6 separate regions of the Homo sapiens genome follow, and all the other regions are linked to region 4. The links are contacts of gene promoters, found by promoter capture Hi-C in blood cells and fetal thymus (Javierre and others, 2016). All regions are on one chromosome and are shown on one strand. The core of a region is centred on a gene start or on the middle of the fragment in contact, and the rest is flanking DNA. Distances in the headings are between cores, read along the strand shown.

Region 1 (3,778 bases), core at 122-2,621, 960 kb before region 4:
ATTTTTTAATCCATTCTTTGTTTGTTTACCTGTGCTCATCCTCTGCCCTTACACCCATGACTGAGGACCAATGACGTCATGTGGCTTTTGCAATTCACGCCCCCCTTAAGTCCTTAATGAAGAGCCAGCCCAAGTAGAGGGGCCCCTGATCCTCACACTTCAGTATAGCATTGGTTCCCCCTGACCACTTTGGAGCACTGTTCTGGGACTCCAGGTCTTGAGGAGAGAGACAGAGAGAGAGAATGGATCCTCATAGGTCAGGGAGTGGGGGAGGGGGCAAATGAGCCTTAAGAAATGGTTTTTAAACAACCAAACAAAAAGCAGGAAAAACAAATGGGAAATGGGGGGGCGGGGGGGAGGAAGAGGCTGCACTGCAGCCACAGGGGATTCTTAGGATTTTTCTACATTCTGTATATTTCTTCTCAAACCTCCAAATGTCCTTAAATGTTTAATAAACACTGACATTTCCAGAAGCTGCTGCCTTGTCTAGAATTTCCTAGTCCTCCTGGGAATAATTCCTGCCCCTTATCCCATCCCCAACCTTCCATACTTGGCTTCAGTTGTTTAGTTTGTTTTTTTGGGGTGGGCTTATATAGTATACTAGAAAGAACTCTGAAATAGCCTCACAAGACACATTCATACCTTCAGCAAATAATCAGTGAGATTATACTACGTTGTAAACTCTGCCAGTCTCTGCTTTTACATGAGTTAAAACGCAGAATCTGTCTTCACCAAGATCTGAATTTTAAAACATCCCAGCCACTCTCTAGCTGTGTGATCCCCAGGACAGTTACCTGACTTTGGTAAGCTTGTTTATGTACTTGTAAACAACTGAGATAATGATATCTGCCCTGCTTAATTCCTAGGGATTTTATAATAATCAAATGAGATCCTGTGTATGGAAAACTTTGTAAACTGTAAGTTGATATACAACTAAATATTAAGGTGTTCAATATTTGTTTCTAGTGCTTGCCTAAGGTAGTACACTTTACAAATTAGCACAAATCCCATTCACCTCTCTAAACAATCACTGCTTTGTTTTGTTGGTACATGATTTTACTTCTGTTTACCTATTAATAGGTATACTATTAATACCTCATTAGCTAGTTTGTTGGTATGTTGATTTAGGTATACCATTAATATCCTGGTATCCTGAACTGATTGTGGAAAAACATATACGTATCATTTTCCCCTGGGGATTACTGATGGCACAAAAAAACCCAAAGTGCCCACAAGTAATTTCTTCCCCTTGTTAAGAAGCTAAAGATATGATTAACACCAGCTTTACCAAAACCCAGAGTGCTTCCATTTGTTTGAGGGGTGTCTTCAATGTCTTTTAAAAAAAATCAATCTGCCTTCATTTAAATATAAAAGCTAATAGAGTATATATAGCCTTTTGTTGGGGGGAAGTGGGAGAGGAAACTTAGTCACAACCCAGTAATAAAGTTGGGAATATCTTAAGCCCAAGATTCCTTATTAGTTAAGATGCTAAACTGTCCATTATTCATTAGATAGTTGCAGCTGGGTTCCCTGCTTAAACTTCCCAGACTGTCAGGAGAGTCAAATGAGGTTGGATGTGGTGGCTCATGCCTGTAATGCCAGCACTTTGGGAGGCCGAGGTGGGCAGATCACTTCAGGCTAGGAGGTTGAGGCCAGCCTGACCAACATGGCTAAACACTGTCTCCACTAAAAATACAAAAATTAGCCGAGCATGGTGGTGAACGCCTTCTAACCCTGGCTACTTGGGCAGCTGGGGCACGAGAATTGCTTGAACCGCGGAGGCGGAGGTTGCAGTGAGCCGAGATCATGCCGCTGCACTCTAGCCTGGGCAACACAGCGAGACTATGTCTCATAAAAATAAAAAAGAAAGAGAGAGAGAGAGAGTCAAATGAAATATTATGCTACTTATGAGATAGAGTATAGCTCAAAGCTTCTCATTTAATTACACTTTTGTTCTAAAATTTATCAGCCACCTGCATTTTGCTAGCTCAGTTTATCCAATTATTTTAATATTTCTTATTCCATCAAGAATCCTGGTACCCTGGGACAACATTTTGCAATCTCTTGCATTAGGCATTTTCACAAGCATTGCACACTTAATGTGGGTTTTTCCAGGACTGTGCCCATTTTCCACAATCCCCAACAAAGTAAGCCACATCCCCCCTTTCTTTCCTCTGCAGTAAAGCATTAAATAAAGTCTAGAATAATGATTCAGATAAAGGGAAATGACATTGTTATATGGGAAACTTTGAATCCCATCTAATTATTACTTTGAAATAAATCGTTCACAATCCTCAGTGCGTTGTTAATAATAGCAATAATTTTGCCCAGGCATGTGAGCACTTTGAGAATAATTTAAAGCCTTTTTCAGTGTTAACCATAAAAAGAAAAAGATTATAACCCAATTTATGAATACGCAGACAAAGAGTCTAAATAAAATATTTGCAAAAGAGAATTCCACAATGAGTTAATAAAATAATAAATTATGACCATGAAGAATTTACTCTGGGAATGAAAGAATAGTTCAGTATCAGGAAATTTACTAACAGGATGTGTTATATCATCAGGGAAAAAACGTAATTCTATCAAGAGGAGATGTAAAAAAAAAAAAGCAATTGTTTTTTAGTAGCTATTCCTACAAAACATTCTAAGTAAAATAGTAATAGAAATAACCATAATGGACACTATTTTTCAAAAATCATTTAAAAAGCATATTAAATATGAAATATTGCAGCCATTGTCATTAAAACAAAAGACAGTACTTACATTATCGCTAAAAATATTCAGTATTATATTTGAAGAATTTAGCTAGTGTAATTAACCAAAAACAAGGAACAATCTGTATACATAGATGAGAAACTTATCTTTATTTGCAGATAATATGATTGTGTTTCTAGGAAATCCATAAGATGCAACTAGACATGTATTGAACTAAGAAGTCAATCTGGTAGTGTGATTATAAAATAAATTAATTTCAGTCTATAACTAGAAATCTAGCTAGAAATGAAAATAATAGGGAAGCCCACTGATGACAGTAAAAAGAACAGAAACAGAAATTAACAAGAAAGGTACATAACCTGTATGAAAAAAATTATAAGATTTATTAAGTAACAATATGTGAAAGTTGTCAGAATCAAGATGGAGACACTCGTGTTAAAAAAGAAAAACAGGGCCAAGCGCAGTGGCTCACGCCTGTAATCCCAGCACTTTGGGAGCTGAGGTGGGTGGATCACTTGAGGTCAGGAGTTCAAGACCAGCCTGGCCAACATGGTGAAACTCCATTCTACTAAAAATACAAAACATTAGCCAGACATAGTGGTGCTCACCTGTAATCCCAGCTACTCAGGGGGCTGAAGCAGGGGAATCGCTTGAACCTGGGAGGCGGAGGCTGCAGTAAGCTGAGGTCATGCCACTGCACTCTAGCCTGGGCAACAGAGCGAGACTCCGTCTCAAAAAAAAAAAAAAAACCCCAAAACAAACAAAAAGACAAAAACAAAACAAAAGAAAACCCTGACAAACAGAACCAGGGAGGGCTATGAAGAAACAGGTTCTCATGCATAAATACTTGATAACAAAAGCTATGACAAAAGAATGCAAAATGGGGACTTAGGGGAAAGGGTGGGTGGGGGTGGTGAGGGATAAAAAAAACTACAAATTAGGTTCAGTGTATACTGCTCAGGTGATGGGTGCACCAAAATCTCACAAATCACCACTAAAGAACTTACTCATGTAACCAAACACCACCTGTACCCCAAAAACCTATGGAAATAATTTTTTT
Region 2 (3,902 bases), core at 63-2,562, 700 kb before region 4:
TTGCCCATTCCTGTTATGTTCTTGGACCCTAAGATACCTCCTGTCCCTTTTAAATCCAGATTAAGAGAAACGTCCAGGAAGAGCTCTTTGAAGCCCTCAATATTTGTTGGAGGGACTGGACTCCTCTCCAGCTCCCCACCCTCTGCCTCCAGTCACCATGTGCAAGAGAGGTCCTGTACAGATCTCTCTGGGCTCTCCTTTCTCCTTTGGAATAACTTGTTCCTATTTCAGGAAAGGGAAATGGTGTCACTCAGGCCCTGGGACTGCTTCTCCAGCCAGGCTGGGGCCACAGGTCCCACTCTAGTGAAGGTCAATGTCTCAGAATAAAAGCTGTATTTTTACACATAGTGTGGAGTCTCATTATTCTTATTAAAGTCTTTGGTGATAGGTATTATATCTTCACATATTTGGCAAAACATTCTTTTTCTTCTTCTTGTTTGGGTGCTCTTCCTCAGTTGTTGTCATGGAGACTAGTGGCCAGAAACTAGAGCTAGGTTCATGGTGGTCAGGAAATAAGGAAGAGAAACTTATATTTACATAATGCGTTCATTATGTGCCAGGAACTGGACTAAGTATCCTGTGCTCACAAAATCTATGTCCTTGATTTTATTTAATCCACACAATTCTGGAAGGTTGGTGCTAGTATCTCCAGTTTATAGATGAGGAAACTAAGGCTCAATTAAGTCAAAATGTTTGCCAAAGGTCTCAGAGGTAAGAAGTGGCAGAGATGGGTTTGAAACCTGGATCTGCCTGGCCCCCAAGCTTGAATTTTTCCCATTATACCACACTACTCCAAATCCATTCAGGGTAGGTCTTGATTGAGAAGAATGGGAATCAAGATTCCTGTCACAGAAGGTGTGAGCCTTTAGAACACTAGAAGCTTTGGGGTCTTTGGATGAGTGACTGCTGACGCGAATAACAAGGAACATATCCAATTCTATGCATGCCCCGATAGGTCGTAATCTCTAGCAGGTAACCTTTCAAAAAGACGCCCTGCGCCAAGATGGCCTCCCAAATAGCCCTTGTTAAAGATGGCGCCTCCGTCGGACGTCCCTCCCTTGATCTCAGCTGGATTCTCTTCTTTCCTGGAATGAAAAAATGCCCTGCCAAGCACTAAGATATTAGTACAAGTTAGTCGTCTCTTTCCCGTTCTTGTCGAAAGTGGCCAGGCCTTCAGCTACATTCTCCAGGACACGGCTTCTTTCCGGCTTCACAAATAACCCACAAACACCAACTCTCATCAAGATGGAGTGAGCGGAAGTGGGGCAGTTCTGAGTTTGAGTTTATGGGCGGGGCGAGAGCGACACTTCCGCCCCTCACCAACATGGCCGCGGGCTGGAAGTGCGCATGAGCAGCTGTCTATGGAGATACCTAGGCCGGGAGAGGGAGAACACAGTTGGAGAAAATCGGCAGCTGAGACGGCCTTGGCCGGTGAGTGTAGGACCGGGCAGAAGTCTGGAAACTGGGTGGACTGGCAAGGCAGGGCAGCTTTGATTTTGTTTCCGTTTTTCAAGTTAGAGAACACTGCTGGGGAGGAAGCCTTTGTTTTGGGGGAGGGGGCTGTGCTGGTTCTTTATCTCATACCCTGCTTTGTGGGCCAAACTCTCTCCCTTCCCCAGAGCGCGAGCGTCCCAGCCCTCCTGCGCTGTCCAGCTGCGCGCCGCAGCCGCCGGCACCGGGCGCTTGAGCTCCCTAGTCCCCGAGGCCCTTTCCTGCCTCCTCCGCGGAGCAGCTGGGGCGCGGGGCTAAGACTGCGGGGCTGCGGGGTCACGGCGCAGGCTCCCGGGCTCGCGCCTGGCGGGCGCTCAGCTCCGTAAGCGCCTTCTGGTTGGTGAGCCTGCAGGGAGACGCCTCATTCTAAGGCAAGGTCTAGGTGCCTGACTTCTTTCGGGAGTTGATTTTTTTTCCCTTTGTGTCCAGACTTAGCAAGGGCTCTTACTGGGCCCTTCTGGCCTGAGCGTGCACACCACAACGTCCCATCCCTGTTTCCGTGTCACCGATCCCTAATGCCTAGGAAATGCTTCCGGATGTCCAACTAAGATTTGAATAAGTACCCTGACCCCGTTGCTGGGTGTCCTCAGAGACTGCCCCGGCTGACAGCTGTGGCCAATAGAGATGCCTCCTGTGCCGGGCCCTCTATTTCATTGCCTTCCCCTGCAGTCAGCGCGGCAAGCTTCGCAGGGCATTTCCTCTTCAGGTTTGAAGATGGAAATGTAGGTGGTCCCAAAACACTAGTGCTACTTCCCCTTATCGACTGGGATCTCCTTGCAGCGTTACTTCGTCTGTACGGTTTCACTTTCAGTTCCTTTTTCAACATTTTCCTCGGACGCGGTCTTTCCGAGGCTTATCCATTGAAAATTTTCCTTGGATAGGAAAGGTTTGGAGGACCTTATGGGTAGAGAATTTCCAAAAATCTTGCCCCTTTTGTGTTGGGATTATCTTATTGCTTTGTACTGTGTAGCTGTTTCTTTCTGGAGGCATGTCTGCCCAGCTCTTTGTTTTTCCTGCCCTCTGGCTGGGTGTCAGGGTCCTAAGGCAGAGCTTGTAGGTGGATTCTTCCCCCTTTGTCTCTTCTTCAGAACCCTGTTTTTTTTTTTTTTACCCCTTCTTGCTCAGGCTTAGTTGATTTGGAGTTGTCATAGCAACATTTTAGCAACAGTGTTGTTCTGCAGGAAGGCTTGATGAATAAAATAGAGAATGCTTGAAGAGGATCCACTTGGGCTTTAGGGTTTCTAACAGATTATATAAATCTGGATACCCCAAAACAAGAGTCCTGTCAGTAGAATGGGGCCCAAATGCCAAGTCTAGTCTTTGTGGTCAGGGATATTCTTCCAGTGGTAGTGGGCTTCAGATTTCCTCTTCCTAGGTTTGAAAACAGAAATGTCTTGATGGACAACATGTGGCTGAGAAACTGGAAGAAGCATCAGTGTCCATGACACTGTATTTTTTGATGGTGGGGCCAATACATGGCCCTTCCTGATTCCCATGAAGCTGCCATCATGGCAGGTCATAATAGCTTTAATGATCCATTTAGAGATGTGTTGTTGGCTGGGTGCGGTGGCTCATGCCTGTAATCCAAGCACTTTGGGAGGCCGAGGCAGGCGGATCACCTGAGGTCAGGAGTTCCAGACCAGCCTGGCCAATATGGTAAAACCCCATCTCTACTGAAAATACAAAAATTAGCTGGGCGTGGTGGTGGGCACCTATAATCCCAGCTATTCAGGAGGCTGAGGCAGGAGAATCACTTGAACCCAGGAGATGGAGGTTGTAAGCCGAGATTGTGCCACTGCACTCCAGCCTGGGTGACAGAGCAAGATTCTGTCTCAGAAAAAAAAAAAAAAAAAAGAAAGAAATGTGTTGTTTCGGCCAGGTGCAGTGGCTCACACCTGTAATCCCAGCACTTTGGGAGGCTGCCGAGGTGGACAGATCATGCTCTCAGGAGTTCGAGACCAGCCGGGCCAACATGGTGAAACCCCGTCTCTACTAAAAATACAAAAATTAGCCAGGCGTGGTGGTGTGCACCTGTAATCCCAGCTACTCCGGAGGCTGAGGCAGGAGAATCACTTGAACCTGGGAGGCAGAGGTTGCAGTGAGCTGAGATCGCGCCACTGCACTCCAGCCTGGGTGACAGAGAGAGACTCTGTCTCAAAAAAAAAAAAAAAAAAAAAGTGTTGTTTCTGTCTTCCAGTATAATTATCCACTCTCCACCAGGAGTTGGAGTGATAATGGAGGGATGGGGAACACTATTTGTAGCCTTGCTTTTTCAATCACTGTAGGCCAGTCCTCAACATCAGTATGGTGGAGGCTGATTGTCCCCTGCAGATGACTGGGTTATTTTCCTGGCTATGTGTTCATGGAACCTAAGTTCTAGAACCAGAGATACTGTTCTGTTTCCTAAACTC
Region 3 (3,707 bases), core at 825-3,324, 670 kb before region 4:
GTAGACAAACACGTGAACAAAGGTCTTTGCATCATAGACAAGGTAAAGAATCAAGTGCTGTGCTTTTAGATATGCATACACATAAACATCTCAATGCTTTACAAAGCAATATTGCTGCCCGCATGTCCCACCTCCAGCCTTAAGGCGGTTTTTCCCTATCTCAGTAGATGGAACGTACAATGTCTTGGTTTTATACCGAGACATTCCATTGCCCAGGGACGGGCAGGAGACAGATGCCTTTCTCTTGTCTCAACTGCAAGAGGCATGCCTTCCTCTTATACTAATCCTCCTCAGCACAGACCCTTTACAGGTGTTGGGCTGGGGGACAGTCAGGTCTTTCCCTTCCCACGAGGCCATATTTCAGACTATCACATGGGGAGAAACCTTGGACAATACCTGGCTTTCCTAGGCAGAGGTCCCTGCGGCCTTCCGCAGTGTTTTTGTCCCTGGGTACTTGAGATTAGGGAGTGGTGATGACTCTTAAGGAGCATGCTGCCTTCAAGCATTTGTTTAACAAAGCACATCTTGCACAACCCTTAATCCATTTAACCCTGAGTTTGACACAGCACATGTTTCAGAGAGCAAGGGGTTGGGGGTAAGGCCATAGATTAACAGCATCCCAAGGCAGAAGAATTTTTCTTAGTACAGAACAAAATGGAGTCTCCTATGTCTACTTCTTTCTACACAGACACAGTAACAATCTGATCTCTCTTGCTTTTCCCCACACTGGTGAGTCACTCCTCCTTTCCTCTCCCTCTACTCCCAGGAGTGAATTGTTCCCTCCAAACTAGAAACTGGTGACTGGCACTTCCTAGTTCTACCTGGAACTAGGAAACGAGTGGCAGTGGAATTTCAGTGTCCTTTAGTCTTTGCCTTCTGGCTCCAGATCACTTTTTTTTTTTTTGAGACGGAGTCTCATTCTGTTACCCAGGCTGGAATGCAGTAGCATGATCTTGGCTCACTGCAACCTCCACCTCCCGGCTTCAAGCGATTCTCCTGCCTTAGCCTCCCCAGCAGCTGGGACTACAGGCACGCGCCACCACGCCCGGCTAATTTTTTGTATTATTTATTTATTTATTTGTTTTTGAGACAGAGTCTCTCTCTGTCGCCAGGCTGGAGTACAGTGGCACGATCTCGGCTCACTGCAAACTCCACCTCCCGGGTTCATGCCATTCTCCTGCCTCAGCCTCCTGAGTAGCTGGGACTACAGGCGCCCGCCACCATGCCTGGCTAATTTTTTCTATTTTTAGTTGAGACGAGGTTTCACTGTGTTAGCCAGGATGGTCTTGATCTCCTGACCTCATGATCTGCCCGCCACGGCCTCCAAAAGTGCTGGGATTACAGGCGTGAGCCACCGCGCCCGGCCCCTAATTTTTTGTATTTTTAGTAGAGACGGGTTTTCACCATGTTGGCCAGGCTGGTCTCGAACTCCTGACTTCAAGTAATCCTCTTGCCTAGGCTTTCCAAAGTGCTGGGATTACAGGCGTGAACCCCTGCACCTGGCCACTCCAGACCACTTTTACCTCACCATGTTGCTCTTCAGTTCCTTTGTGATCATGTCTTGTGGAGTCTCCAGCCCAGTTCCGATTCAAGATAGAGCTACTGTGATTTTTTTTAAAAAAATTTAATTAGAATAGGTTAATTGACATGGTTTTATAATTAAAATGATATCAAAGGGGTGGGGTATCTCATTCCCATGTTGCTCCTGTTCACCCCAAACCCCAATAGTTTCTAATGTCTCTTCAGTGTTTCATTTTACAGATACAAGTATATATAAATAATACTTGTTTTTTCTCCCCTTTCTGACACAAAAAGAGGCATACTACATATATTCTACATCTTGCTTATATATATATATCATGGAGTTTTGTTGTTGTTGTTGTTGTTTTTGAAACAGGGTCTCACTCTGTTGCCCAGGCTGGAGTACAATGGCATGATCATAGCTCACTGCAGCCTTTTTTTTTTTTTTTGAGACAAAGTCTTGCTGTGTTGCCCAGGGAGGAGTCCAGTGGCGTGATCTTGTCTCACTGCAGACTCTGCCTCCCAGGTTCAAGTGATTCTCCTGCCTCAGCCTCCCGAGTAGCTGGGACACAAGCGTGCACCACCATTCTTGGCTAATTTTTGTGTGTGTGTATATATATATATATATATATTTTTTTTTTTGAGATGGAGTCTGGCTCTGTCACCCAGGCTGGAGTGCACTGGAGCAATCTCGGCTCACTGCAAGCTCCGCCTCGCGGGTTCACGCCATTCTCCTGCCTCAGCCTCCCGAGTAGCTGGGACTACAGGGGCCCGCCACCACTCCGGCTGATTTTTTGTATTTTTTTTAGTAGAGACGGGGTTTCACCGTGTTAGCCAGGATGGTCTCGATCTGCTGACCTCGTGATCTGCCTGCCTCGGCCTCCCAAAATGCTGGGATTACAGGCATGAGCCACTGTGCCCAGCCTTTTGTACATATTTTTTTAATTTAATTTTTTTTTTTTGAGATGGAGTCTTGCTCTGTTACCCAGGCTGGAGTGCAGTGGCGTGATCTCGGCTCACTGCAAGCTCTGCCTCCCGGGTTCACGCCATTCTCCTGCCTCAGCCTCCCAAGTAGCTGGGACTACAGGCACCCGCCACCATTCCCTGCTAATTTTTTTTTTTTTTTGTATTTTTAGTAGAGATGGGATTTCACCATGTTAGCCAGGATGGTCTTGATCTCCTGGCCTTGTGATCTGCCCCCATTGGCCTCCCAAAGTGCTGGGATTACAGGTGTGAGCTGCCCGGCTAATTTTTGTATTTTTAGTAGAGATAGGGTTTCACCATGTTGGCCAAGCTGGTCTTGAATTCCTGACTTCAAGTGATCCGCCTGCCTTGGCCTCCCAAAGTGCTGGGATTACAGGCATGAGCCACCGTGCCTGGCCTCACTGCAGCCTTGACCTCCTGGGTTCAAGCAATCCTCCAGTCTTAGCCTCCTGAATAGCTGAGGCTATAGGCAAGTGTGAGTGGTGAGCCATACCTGGCTAATTTTTTATTTTTTTAGTACAGACAGGGTCTCATCTGTTGTACAGGCTGGTCTTGAATTCTTGGCTTTAAGGGATCCTTTTGCCTTGGCCTTTCAAAATGCTGAATGACAGGTATGAGTCACTACACCTGGCCCATATTGGTTTCTAGGGATTGTGGCCTTGGCTGTTAGGATACATCCCACCCCCCTCCAAGTCAGCTGAGTTCAATTTGCACTTGTTCTGTGGACACATAAATGGGCAACACACGTTTCCACCACACCCAAAAATAGATTTAAATGCCATGCACATTTTATGTGATAATAATGAGACTTGTTTATCACATCTGTTAGGTTTGACTAGAGACCCTGGAGATCTCTAAACTCAAACCAGTTTCTGTTTCAGAGATTCAGGAAAGACCTGGATGACCTTGCGTCCAACATAATTGAGGATGAGGTTTCACTATTGTGTGACGGTTGTGGAAAGCAGTATGAGTGAACACATACTGTGAGAGTGGATACACACTAGGGTTTTCCTGGCATTGAGAACCCAGAGTTCATCTGCCTGGACTCCCTGATAAGCAGGGTTTCTGTCTAAAGTCCGGCTGCGTCATTTGTTTCACAATGTAGGGGCGGAACAGGAGGAAGCAGCTGGCTGGCAGGAAGTGGGTGCTGGGCCCCTGAAGTAAGTCCTGCGCTGGAAGGCTCGACCTTCCCTTGCACTGGG
Region 4 (3,637 bases), core at 214-2,713:
AGATAAAAAGTGTTAGAAAAATTTGAGAGACACAGGTACTAGCTTCTATCGTGTCATTAACCTGAAGTATGGCTTGGGTAAATCATTTAATATCATACTTTCTAAAATGAGATTAAAGTCCATTCTTCTGATTTCTTGGGCACACACTTATCGTAACAGATACATGTTCTACATGGCACCCAGCTATGTGCCTCAAAGGGTTATTACAAAGTCCATGTAGCGCCATTGACAGTGACACTAAAAGAGAGAAAACTTGGTCAAAGGAAAGGTGTTTGACCTTAGATTTGCCAGATTCTGGTTGCACAGGTGATCACACTTCTGCTTGTATATCCTGTATGTATATTACTAATTGGTTAATACACAGGTGCTGGGCTAAGAAAACTTTCTGAGGCATTTTTCCAAGAGTGTGAACAGAATTGAGAGAAACCTTATGACATACACGGGTCAGTTAATTTAACATCAGCAGGTCATTTGTGTGCCCACAGTGTGGGGCAGCTGTAGTTTCTCCTTTGAGGATCCTTAAAAACAATGTGAATTGGGGGAAGGCACAGTCATAGTTATATACAGGCATTTGCATTTTAGGGCTTGACCAACTAAAAAGCCATGTATCAGTAAATGAACGCGTATCAGCAAACACTTAAGTACATTATAAATGCCAAAAGTTCCTTGAATTGTTACTTCAGGGTCTTCACAGTTAAGAGTACCCATATCCTACCTTATTCTTGCTTTACTGATTAAAAAAAAAAAAAAAAAAAAAACCTGAGGCAAGGCAGGGGGACACAGACTTAGGATGTAATCAACAGAGGAAGAAATAAGAAATCCACCTTTTAAGCGCCGCACAGCACCCACAGAACAAGATTGCTTTCGTCTCAAAAAGTCTAAACGCGAGGAAGAAAGCTAACTTTCACACCTGTTCCTTTCGACTGTGGGGTGGGTGGCTGGGGTTGTGGGAAAAACGAGACATCTGGACAAAGTGGGAGAGGGTCAGGCTCGAAGTCCAGGAAGAGGCCTAGAGAAGGGAGTGAAGCGACACGACGTGCTGCGGGGGAGAAGGGACCTTCAGGTCCAGGCAAAGGGGGAACTTCTGTCGTGGGAACGAAAAAGAAAGAGGATTTACAGGGTGGGGGGACAGAGGGGCAGCAGGAACCAGAAGGGAGACAGTGGCGGTCGCGGCGGGGCCGATCCGAGAGTTCCCCTTAGAGAACGGAGCTCACGGGCGGGGAGGCCTCACCTGCTAGTAGGACGCAGAAAGACAGAAGGCGAAGGAGACCCCGACTTCCCGGGTCAGCCCCAGAGCCACCCCCTGCCGTAGCCATCTTGCCTCTCTGCTGAGCGGAAGCCCCCGTTCGGCTCCTGTCTGTTAGCGGCCTCTCTAGGCTACCACTGACACCGTCTCTGTGGCCCGGAGCCTAAGAGACCGGAAGTTCGTGTTTCCAGGCGCTTCCGGAAACCGCGGGAGAGGGTCGCTGACGTGGAGGCGTCCGAAGGGCAGCAGGGTGTGTCGGGGCTCGGATTAAGACATCGGAGTCGGAGACCTGAGAGATGTTAACCAAATTCGAGACCAAGAGCGCGCGGGTCAAAGGTAGTGGAGAATAAAAGGGGGAACATGGAGGTTGGATGTCAGGAGCGGCGCTGACACCGGGGAAGAGAAAATGGGTAGAGGTGTTGGTCGAAATGGGCCCACCAGACGGACCCGGAGGAAGACGGAGGGTGGGAGAGAGGTTGGGCCTGGCTAGCGGTTCTCCAGTCCCCTCTTCTTTGGTGTGTCCTTGGGCTTCGATTTACCTATAAAGTGGCTCCCACACTGCAGGGGATTCCTTAGACCCCCTCCCTATTCTTTCTTCCCCCTTTCTCTCTTGGCTGTGCTCCCGATTTGTGTTGTTCTGCTCCAAAGGCCCTGTGATCTGTTGGCTTTTTGATGACTGTGTTATATGGAGTGGCCCTGGGAACTGAGTCTCGATCTCTGTTACTCGCACCCGAGTCAGTAGCCTTTTTGGAGACGAGTAGTGGCAACCTCACTTAAGGAGGCCTTGGCTGCAGCATCTCAACATCAGTGCCTCCATTCGGCTTTATTTACTACCCGGAAATAGTACTTGAGGCTTATAACCCCAATAAAGTCTCAACTTGATAGAGTTGCCAGATAAAATGCAGGATACCCAGTTAAATTTGAATTTCAGGTAAACAATGAATAGTTTTTTAGTCTGTCGTTGCTTACCAGAAGTTCAAATTTATCTGGAAATCTCGTATTTTTATTTGCTAAGTACGGCAGCTCTAGAGCTCGAGTGTGGGTCGTTGGGGGTGGAGGGCAAATACTGAGATCGCAGTATTAGCCTCAGAACGTTAGAATGTGAAAGTCAGAGAAGTAAGGTCTCCGAAGACCTGGAAAAAATAGTATCTAGAATATTTAGTGAGATGCAGCGTAACAAAGTGGTTAGGAACTTGGTCTTTGAAGTCAGATGGGCTTGCCTTGGAATCCTGAGACATCCACTAACAAGCTGTGACTTGGATGACTTACTTAATGTCTCTAAGTCTGTATTTCCTCATCTGTAAAATCGTCTTTTATAGAGAGTATTAAAATGAGAAAGTATATGGAGTGTATTTATTACAGCGCCTGGTGTAGACTCAGTAGCTCAAAAACTGGAGGTTGTTATCAATGTGTGAATATATTCTGAGCAGTTTCTAAGTCTCTTGGGAAACTTGACCTTGAAAGATGGGTACCATTAAGAATTTCTGAGACCTGTATAGGTGAAATGTGAAATGGGTCTTCATAATCTTTCAGTTTTCTTTTCTGCTCCTAATTTCTTGCTGGGCAGTACAGAAGGAAAAACAAAGATGTCATAATATTTGAGGGCAAACATCCATTGTTGAGTGTACTTATATATCATAATTAAAAAAAAGAACCTAATGGAAAAATAGACAATTTAGAAGAAAAATTGTAAATGTTCAATAAATAATTAAAATAGTTCCACCTCACTAGTAATGAAAGAAATGCAAGAAAAAAAAAGTTAAGTTACTTTTTTGGGGGGAGGGTCTTAGATTTATAAAACAAAACAACAAATAGCTGATAGCAGCCTGTGTGCAAAATGGGCACCTCCATAAACTTCATGAGACTGTATATTGATACAGTGTTTTTACATTTAAACTATATGTACTAAAATGTTAAGTGCACATATTCTATTCCTGAGCAATCTCACAGGTCTTTAGCCTAGGGCAGTAATAATGCAAATAGGCTAGATTATGTGTAGAAGTATCTTCAGTAGGCTCTTCTGATAGCCAAAAATTGGCGGACAAAATGCCTGTTAGAATAATATAAGTGTAGTACATTTGTCCCTTGTAGTTAAAAAGAATGAGGTTATGTTTATATGTACTTCCATGAGATCCATATTATATAGTTAAGTGAGGAAGAAGTTTGCAGAACAACATCATAACGTGATCCCCACTTTCATAAAATACTAAAGCCTATGTCTATGTGTAACTGCATTAAAAATCTGAAAGGATACACTTCAAACTGTTAGTAGTTGTTACCTCTGGGGACTTCCATTTCCAGTCATGATAGAATAACAAGAGCCAGATTTACCTTCCCACCTTAACTATACAACTGAACAAAATGTATGAAACAAAGGTTCATACATTGCTC
Region 5 (3,898 bases), core at 292-2,791, 640 kb before region 4:
GCTTGTCCTCAGGCTTGTCAGAGACTCCTATAACCATATAAAGAAGCTGAGGGTTGATCATGCTTGAGCTATGATACTTATTAAAATAGTACTAGAAAGACAAATAGAATGTAGCATGGCAAAAGAGCTGCACATTTTGGGAGAAGGCATTTATTTGTAGGGGCTGAAATGTGCTAGCTCGAGAATCAGACCTAAGAATTACAAGGTGATTAACCAAAGGAAAAAGTCTCTGGAAGTAGAAAACTAAAAAGAAGGTTTGGAACAGGCTGGAAGTGAGATTGAAGCATATCACAGAAATGTTAGACATTCTTCAATGTCAGTGCCTTGGATGAATTTATAAGGCTTTGCCTTAAAGTTACTTGTGGGCTTATAAAGCCTGTGTCAAAGCTAAACAAAGCCAGACAATAGTTTAGACAAGAAGTAAGGATAGGTATTTATTTATTTATTTGAGATGGAGTTTCACTCTTGTCGCCCAGGCTGGAGGGTAATGGCGCGATCTTGGCTCACCGCAACCTCCGTGTCCGGGGTTCAAGCGATTCTCCTGCCTCAGCCTCCTGAATAGCTGGGATTACAGGCATGCACCACCACGCCCGGCTAATTTTTTTGTATTTTTAGTGGAGACAGCGTTTCTCCATGTTGGTCAGGCTGGTTTTGAACTTTTGACCCCAGGTGATCTGCCCACCTCGGCCTCCCAAAGTGTTGGGATTACAGGCGTGAGCCACTGCACCCGGCCTAGGATAGGTTTTTTTAAGTAGTAACTATTGCAGTAGGGAAGAGGGCCCAAGGTGAACTGAACTTAACTTCCTTAAAAAAAAAAAAAATGCAGGAGGCCTTTTGAAGGCTGGGATGTGCTAAGGGATAGGCATGAAGATATTAAGGAGAATTGCTCCATGTGACTAGACAATCTGGATTTGTGAATTGGCTCTTGTCCAGAAGAGAAATAAGCACCTATTTTTACGACAGGAGCTAGTAGTGCAAGTTAGAGCAAGGCACCCACCTGGTTGGGAGCTGGAGCAAGATTTATTTCCTCAAATGTTTGCATTTCAAAGAAACTCTCAGGTCCCAGTGAAAATAGCTCTGGGTAGAAGATTTACATCTCAAAGAGGCAGAGAAAGATGTTTTAATTGCAAGCTTTCTTTCTAAGTAATTGCACTAAGATGAAGTTCAGGGGCCTGTGTCTATTGCTAGGTTTGGGCTGGGATGCACAGTAAATTTTTCTGACAGCGATGAGCTTTTTCAGGCAGGCATTTTAAGCGGGGGGCTGAGGTCCTCCTAGGGACAAGGCCTTAAGTTGCTAGAAGCCATGCTAGAGCTTGGTTAAGGAGAGTCTTTGTTACCTGGCGTCTCTCTGCAGTGCCGTTTCAATGCCTTAGAGCAAGAGAGTGGTGGATGGACAGTGATAGTGATTCACGTGCGCAATTCACAACTTGCATTAGCAACCAGGCAAAAGCAAGTGCTGCTTTTAGAGGCCTTGGGAAGAATTTCCACAAGTTTCCGGCCATTGGGATACAGGGGAAAAGGGATTGGAGGGAGGCTCATCGGGAACAATACATTAGGTAATGTTGGGGTTTATAAATCGATACCCCCAAATATAGTACTGAACCGAAGAAGCAACCTGAAGATCTCTCTGACCTTCCCCGCTCCACACGGTCTCTCCCAAAAAGCTGAAGTTCCTTTATTTGCCTAAGATCCAGACCCTCCAAGGAGAACAGTAGGTTTCTTTTCCTCCTGTAAGACCAAAAATGTAACCACACCTGAACAGACCTTTTCATGAGTTAATGCCTGCTTCTCATGGTCATCTAAATTCCAAAGAAAACTATTTACAAGTTAATTTGTTTCCTGATCAAATCATTCTCTTTAGTAATCATTTATTGCCCATCAACAGAATTCCTTTTCTCCCGCAGGATCCAAACTCATTCTTTCTGTAACCTCATGATGGCGTATAAGCTTTTGCACCTCACTGGGAGGTTGGGTCTTCATTCTGAAGGCTTCTATGTATACATATTAAATAAGTTTGTATGCCTTTTTTCCTATTAATCTGCCTTGCGTCAGTGATTTTCAGCAAACTTCAGGGAGCCAAAGGCCTTGGCTCCCACAGTGATAATAAACAATATGACTTTTGGCTATCAAAATTCCTGCTGTTAGTTAAGGAAAAATTGTGACAGTTTCTGAAATGGACAAATACAGGCATCCTTCCAGTGGATTACTAGGATTTGTCTAGACTAGAGGACAGGATGCTTCTGGGGGTTTTCTGATTCTCTACAGGTCAGTATCCTTCCTTGTCTTGTACTGTTTTGCAACTCTAGAAAGAAAAGTTAAATATGTAGAAGCCTGACAGTGATACAAATGATCCCTGTTCATATTAATACAAATGCAAATTGTTTGCCTGGTAGAGATACAATTGATTTTCTCTCTGTAGAAAAAAAGATGATCCCAGCCAGGCGTGGTGGCTCACCCTGCAATTCCAGCACTTTGGGAGGCCGAGACAGGCAAATCACAAGGTCAGGAGTTCGAGACCAGCCTGGCCAATATGGTGAAACCCTGTCTCTACTAAAAATACAAAAATTAGCCAGGCGTGGTGGTGGGCGCCTGTAATCCCAGCTACTCTGGAGGGTGAGGCAGGAGAATTGCTTGAATCTGGGAGGCGGAGTTTGCAGTGAGCTGAGTCCTCGCCATTGCATTCCAGCTTGGGCAACAGAGTGAGATTACATCTCAAAAAAAAAAAAAAAAAAAAAAGAATCCCAGAAATTAAATGTTTTATATTTTTGCCACAAGAAAACACGTGCAAGTATGAAACTTTTTGTAAGGTCCTCTGAGCTGGCTGCACTATGGTCAAGCCACGGTGACATTCCCCCACCCTTGTGATAATGTACTTTGTGATACTCCTGTCCTTGTGAATGTACTTTGTAACATTCCTCCCCACCCTTGTGACAATACATCCTCCCTGCCCTTGTGACAATACACCCTCCCTGCCCTTGTGAATGTACTTTGTAACATCCTCCCCACCCTTGAGAATGTACTTTGTAATATCCATCCCCTGCCTGTAAAAAATTGCTCCTGACTACACCGCCTATCCCAAACCTATAAGAACCAATGATAATCCCACCACCTTTTGCTGACCCCTTTCTCGGACTCAGCCCACTCACACACAAGTGAATAAACAGCCATGTTGCTCACACTAAGCCTGTTCAGGTGGTCTCTTATGTGGACACGCATAACACTTTTATTATTATTATTATTAAAAAAGTAATAATAAAAAGAGACAGAGTTTTGCTCTTGTTGCCCAAGCTGGAGTGCAATGGCGTGATCTTGGCTTGCTGCAACCTCTGCCTCCTGGGTTCAAGCAGTTCTCCTGCATCAGCCTCCCAAGTACCTGGGACTACAAGCGTGCACCACCACGCCTGGCTAATTTTTTGTATTTTTAGTAGAAACGGGGTTTCACCATGTTAGCCAGGCTGGTCTCGAACTCTTGACCTCAGGTGATCCACCCGCCTTGGCCTCTCAAAGTGCTGGATTACAGGTGTGAGCCACCACGCCCAGCCGAAACTTTTATTTTTTATTTTTTTATTTGTTTGAGATGGAGTCTCTTGTTGCCTAGGCTGGAGTGCAATGGTGCGATCTTGGCTCACTGCAACCTCTGCCTCCTGGGTTCAAGCAATTCTCCTGCCTCAGCCTCCCGAGTAGCTGGGACTACAGGCGCACATCACCACGTCCAGCTAATTTTTGTATTTTTAGTAGAGATGGGGTTTCTCCATGTTGGCCAGGCTGGTCTTGAACTCCTGACCTCAGGTGATCTACCCGCCTCTGCCTCCCAAAGTGCTGGGATTACAGGCGTGAGCCACCGCAGCCAGCCAACTTTTATTTTTAATTGACAAATACTAATTGCATATATTTATGA
Region 6 (3,754 bases), core at 737-3,236, 780 kb before region 4:
GAGACAGGGTTTCACTCTGTCACCTGGGCTGGACTGCAGTGGCGCTATCACATCCCACTGCAGCTTCGACCTCCCAGGCTCAAGCGATTCTTCTACCTTAGCCTCCCAAGTAGCTGGGATCACAGGTGCATGCCACCACGCCAGGCTAATTTTTATATTTTGCATAGAGATGGGGTTTCACCATGTTGTCCAAGCTGATCTCAAACTCCTGGGCTCAAGTGTTCCTCCCACCTTGGCCTCTCAAAGTGCAGGGATTACAGACGGGAGCCACTGCACCTGTCCTATAGGATGTTTCTAAATATCCCTGGCTTCTACTCATTACATGCTGATGGCAGTCCCCTTCCCCACCAGGCATAATAATCAGAAATGTCTCCAGACATTGCCACATATTCCCCAGGGGTCAAATTTGCCCCTGGTTCAGAACCACTGACCTAAAAGCTATTATAATTCCTAGTACATTGATGATCTAGCCTGGGATCTAGGACTTAAAGGTGGCTAGTGTGTTTGTTTCCTCTCAAATGTAGGGAGTTAACTTCAAAGGATTGAAGCTTATAGAATTACATCCATTGATACATAATTAGGACCACAGTGCTTTCCTGTATTTTGCCTTATTTTCCATTGCGAGGGTATGTGGGGACAGTGTTTCTTCATTTCCTGGGGTTTAAGCACACTTTAAATTAGGGAACTGTGGAGCAACCAGCTCTTCTGGTTGGTTTAATGTGAAACCTACCCAATCTGCTTTATCTGAGAGCCTCACAATCAACAGCTGGCCCAAGGGAACAGGTGGGATAGGGAACAAAGAGAAGTTGCAGGGGCTCTGAGGAGGCTCAGTTTTCTCATGTTGCCTGCTATGAGCAATAACTTATTTTCCTTTAGCACCTTCATTTGTACCCAGTAACAGCAACAGGTGAATCGAGAGGAAGAGGCAAGGAATACCAGTCTATAGTTGAATAGCTATTTCCCATGCTTTGGGTGGGGCATCTGGGCTCTCAAAACTATATATGGATTACATTTCCTGTCTACATATCAGAACCCATGGTATAGGGTTAAGTGATCCCAGAGTGTACCTCCCCTTTTCTTAAGGGAATGAGTTTCTCTGTGCTTTCATTTTAGTTTTTCATCTGAGGAAGAAAGGACCAGTTCCTACTTACTCTTCAGCTTTCTCTATCAGCTTTGTTTTTCCAAAGAAGCTTATTATTTTATTGTTTCCTAGTCTAGCCTCAGTTCCTTTTTGTATAAAATGGACAGAGCAACCTGTTTAATTGTTGAGTAGGGTAGAGTGGTGTGGTATGGTGTGGGTAGTTCTGGACATTGCAGAGGAGGCTATGGCTAGTTAGAATATATGCATGGTAACTGAATTACCTGTATCTGTTTTTAATGGGGTCCTCTCTTGGACTTTTGTGAATTTGTTTCTTAATTGGAATTGCTTGAGGTGATCTCTTGGAGATTAAGTTCAGTTCAACAGTGGGTTGCTCCCACTATATTTGAGGCTCTGTCCATTACTAGGCACTAGGGATATAAAGATGAATATATCTCTCCATGAGTTGAGTAGGATCTAATGGGATAATAAATACACAAATAATTTTAGTACATGGTGATAAATGGTGTAAAGGAGATATGCATAGTGTTCCATAAGCGCACAGAAGAGGACTACTTATCTCTGCATGGGGGTGTAGAAAATGCATTTTGAAGATGGCATCTGAGCTGACTCTTAAAGAATGAGTAGGAGTTAGCCATCTGAAAAAGAGTGATGATGGGGGTGTGGAATAGAGAAGGGAGAGGGGCATTCAGGCAAAGAGAAGAGCCTGAAGAAGGTATAGAGAAATTGCATGATGTATGTGAACTATAAACAAACTGATAATGTTAGAGAATAAAAAGCGGATGTGATGGGAAATGAGGTTGGGAAGGTAGGCCTGATCTTAGAAGGCTTGATGTGTGTGTAAAGAATTTGGAGTGTTCGGCCAGGCGTGGTGGCTCACACCTGTAATCTCAGCACTTTCGGAGGCCGAGGCAGGCGGATCACAAGGTCAGGAGTTCGAGACCAGTCTGGCCAATATGGTGAAACCCCGTCTCTACTAAAAATACAAAAAGTAGCTGGGCGTGGTGGTGGGTGCCTGTAGTCCCAGCTACTCGGGAAGCTGAGGCAGGAGAATCGCTTGAACCTGGGAGGCGGAGGTTGCAGTGAGCCAAGATCGCGCCACTGCACTGCAGCCTGGGCGACAGAGTGACTCTGTCTCAAAAAAAAAAAAAAAAAAAAGAGTTTGGAGTGTTCTTATAGATAACGATGGGGCAATCAATGGGTCTGAAGCAGGAAAGTGACTTGGTCAGTTGTGGACTTCAGACAGCTAACTGAACTAGATGTGGCAGTGGATGGATTTAGGTAGGTTAAGATTGGTGTTGCAGAGAACTTTTAAAGTTACAGTAGTCCAGGTGAGAGATTATTGTAATCTGAACCATGGCAGTGGAGGTGGAAAGGTAGGATAGATTTAAGAAATATCTAGAAGTAGCATTAACAGGAATTTAGGATTGATTGTGTGATTGGAGAGTGTGACCAGAGAGTGCACAGTATAGGATGGTACTGTCTGGTGGAGCAGTAAGTATGAGTGACTTGAGTCAAAGTTGTTGAATTTGGGAATTGATTAATGGCTGCGTCATTGGTATTACCTGTAGCCCATAACGATGGAGGAACTTTGTGAATCAAGAGCCAAACTATATAACGAATGTGGAGCTGTGATTGGTCATTGATAGGGGATTGGTAAATGACATCCATGAGGAAAGCTTAGAAGGTGGTATTGCCAAGGCCAGGTACGGTGGCTCACGCCTGTAATCCCAGCACTTTGGGAGGCCGAGGTGGGTGGATCACCTGAGGTCAGGAGTTCAAGACCAGCCTGACCATCATGGTAAAAACCCATCTCTACTAAAAATACAAAAATTAGCAAGACGTGGTGGTGCGTGCCTGTAATCCCAGCTACTTGGGAGGCTGAGGCACGAGAATTGCTTGAACCTGGGAGGCGGAGGTTGCAGTGAGCCGAGATTGCACCACTGCACTCCAGCCTGGGTGACAAAGTGAGACTCCATCTCAAAAAAAAAAAGTTGATATTGCCAAATAGGGTGAAGATCAAGGGAGTACAAATGGCATAGAATTACAAGAATGCTTATTGTAGAAACTTAATGTTTATTTTAAATCCATGAGTTTTGGTAAATATTGATAAACTTTCTGAGCAGTTATCATTTCTTGATGTGGTTGGATTGTAGGAAAAATGTGGAGGGATGATTCTGGGCTGCAAAGGCCAAGGATGCTTGTATCTTTGAAATGTTTCACAACCATTTATATAAGGGTTACCCGTGATTTTCTCATTGGATTCTTAACAACTCTGAGGTGTATATTCATTCATCCCTGTTTATAGATGACAGCACTGAGAATCTGGAGTTAAGTGACTTGCTTACGGTCACACAGCTACACAGCCTTTCAGTGATACAGTCAGAATTTAAACTAGTTCTTTTTTTTCCGAGATGGGGGACTCACTCTGTCACCCAGGCTACAGTGCAGGATTATGGCTCACTGCAGCCTTGAACTCCTGGGCTCAAGTGATCCTCCTGCCTCAGCCTCCTGAGTAGCAGGGACTACAGGCACATGCCACCATGCCTTGCTAATTTTTTTCTTTTTTGTAGAGATGGGGTCTTGCTATGTTGACCAGGCTGATCTTGAACTCCTGGCCTCAAGCCTTCCTCCCACCTCAGCCTCCTGTGCAGC

Evidence for each region. The method cuts DNA at HindIII sites, captures the fragments that hold promoters and counts their contacts. A CHiCAGO score of 5 or more calls a contact.
Region 1: a fragment that was not itself captured here is called in contact with the fragment with the promoter of COPA in region 4 in 1 of 17 cell types (non-activated CD4 T cells); the score reaches 5.2 in non-activated CD4 T cells.
Region 2: a contact is called between the fragment with the promoter of USF1 here and the fragment with the promoter of COPA in region 4, in 1 of 17 cell types (fetal thymus). The highest score is 5.4, in fetal thymus.
Region 3: a contact is called between a fragment that was not itself captured here and the fragment with the promoter of COPA in region 4, in 1 of 17 cell types (total B cells). The highest score is 6.4, in total B cells.
Region 5: a contact is called between a fragment that was not itself captured here and the fragment with the promoter of COPA in region 4, in 1 of 17 cell types (non-activated CD4 T cells). The highest score is 5.4, in non-activated CD4 T cells.
Region 6: a contact is called between a fragment that was not itself captured here and the fragment with the promoter of COPA in region 4, in 1 of 17 cell types (activated CD4 T cells). The highest score is 5.2, in activated CD4 T cells.

What each region holds. Positions count from the first base shown.
Region 1 is chr1:161,301,430-161,305,207 of GRCh38, reverse strand. It overlaps MPZ (myelin protein zero), which reads left to right. Exons shown (of 6, transcript NM_000530.8): 6 at 1-473. Among named protein-coding and RNA genes, the nearest start is that of MPZ, 6.6 kb to the left of the region's middle. The HindIII fragment of the contact is 1,122 bases long and covers 811-1,932 here.
Region 2 is chr1:161,043,387-161,047,288 of GRCh38, reverse strand. It overlaps USF1 (upstream transcription factor 1), which reads left to right and starts at 1,312. Exons shown (of 11, transcript NM_007122.5): 1 at 1,312-1,431. It overlaps ARHGAP30 (Rho GTPase activating protein 30), which reads left to right. Exons shown (of 12, transcript NM_001025598.2): 12 at 1-343. RefSeq lists enhancers at 462-1,342, 953-1,432, 545-1,744, 1,343-2,223, 2,283-2,512. The HindIII fragment of the contact is 1,293 bases long and covers 883-2,175 here.
Region 3 is chr1:161,013,854-161,017,560 of GRCh38, reverse strand. All of the region lies in intron 1 of F11R (F11 receptor), which reads left to right. Among named protein-coding and RNA genes, the nearest start is that of F11R, 5.4 kb to the left of the region's middle. RefSeq lists enhancers at 1,059-1,656, 3,298-3,517. The HindIII fragment of the contact is 7,117 bases long and covers 1-3,707 here.
Region 4 is chr1:160,341,076-160,344,712 of GRCh38, reverse strand. COPA (coat protein complex I subunit alpha) reads left to right here and starts at 1,463. Exons shown (of 33, transcript NM_004371.4): 1 at 1,463-1,582. The coding sequence starts at 1,543. NCSTN (nicastrin) reads right to left here and starts at 1,330. Exons shown (of 17, transcript NM_015331.3): 1 at 1,232-1,330. The coding sequence starts at 1,316. RefSeq lists enhancers at 1,261-1,310, 583-1,530. The HindIII fragment of the contact is 9,711 bases long and covers 1-3,637 here.
Region 5 is chr1:160,984,996-160,988,893 of GRCh38, reverse strand. No RefSeq gene overlaps it. Among named protein-coding and RNA genes, the nearest start is that of ITLN2, 32 kb to the right of the region's middle. RefSeq lists a silencer at 1,201-1,495. The HindIII fragment of the contact is 816 bases long and covers 1,134-1,949 here.
Region 6 is chr1:161,124,847-161,128,600 of GRCh38, reverse strand. All of the region lies in intron 2 of DEDD (death effector domain containing), which reads left to right. It also overlaps a transcript of NIT1 not described here. Among named protein-coding and RNA genes, the nearest start is that of DEDD, 5.9 kb to the left of the region's middle. The HindIII fragment of the contact is 1,588 bases long and covers 1,193-2,780 here.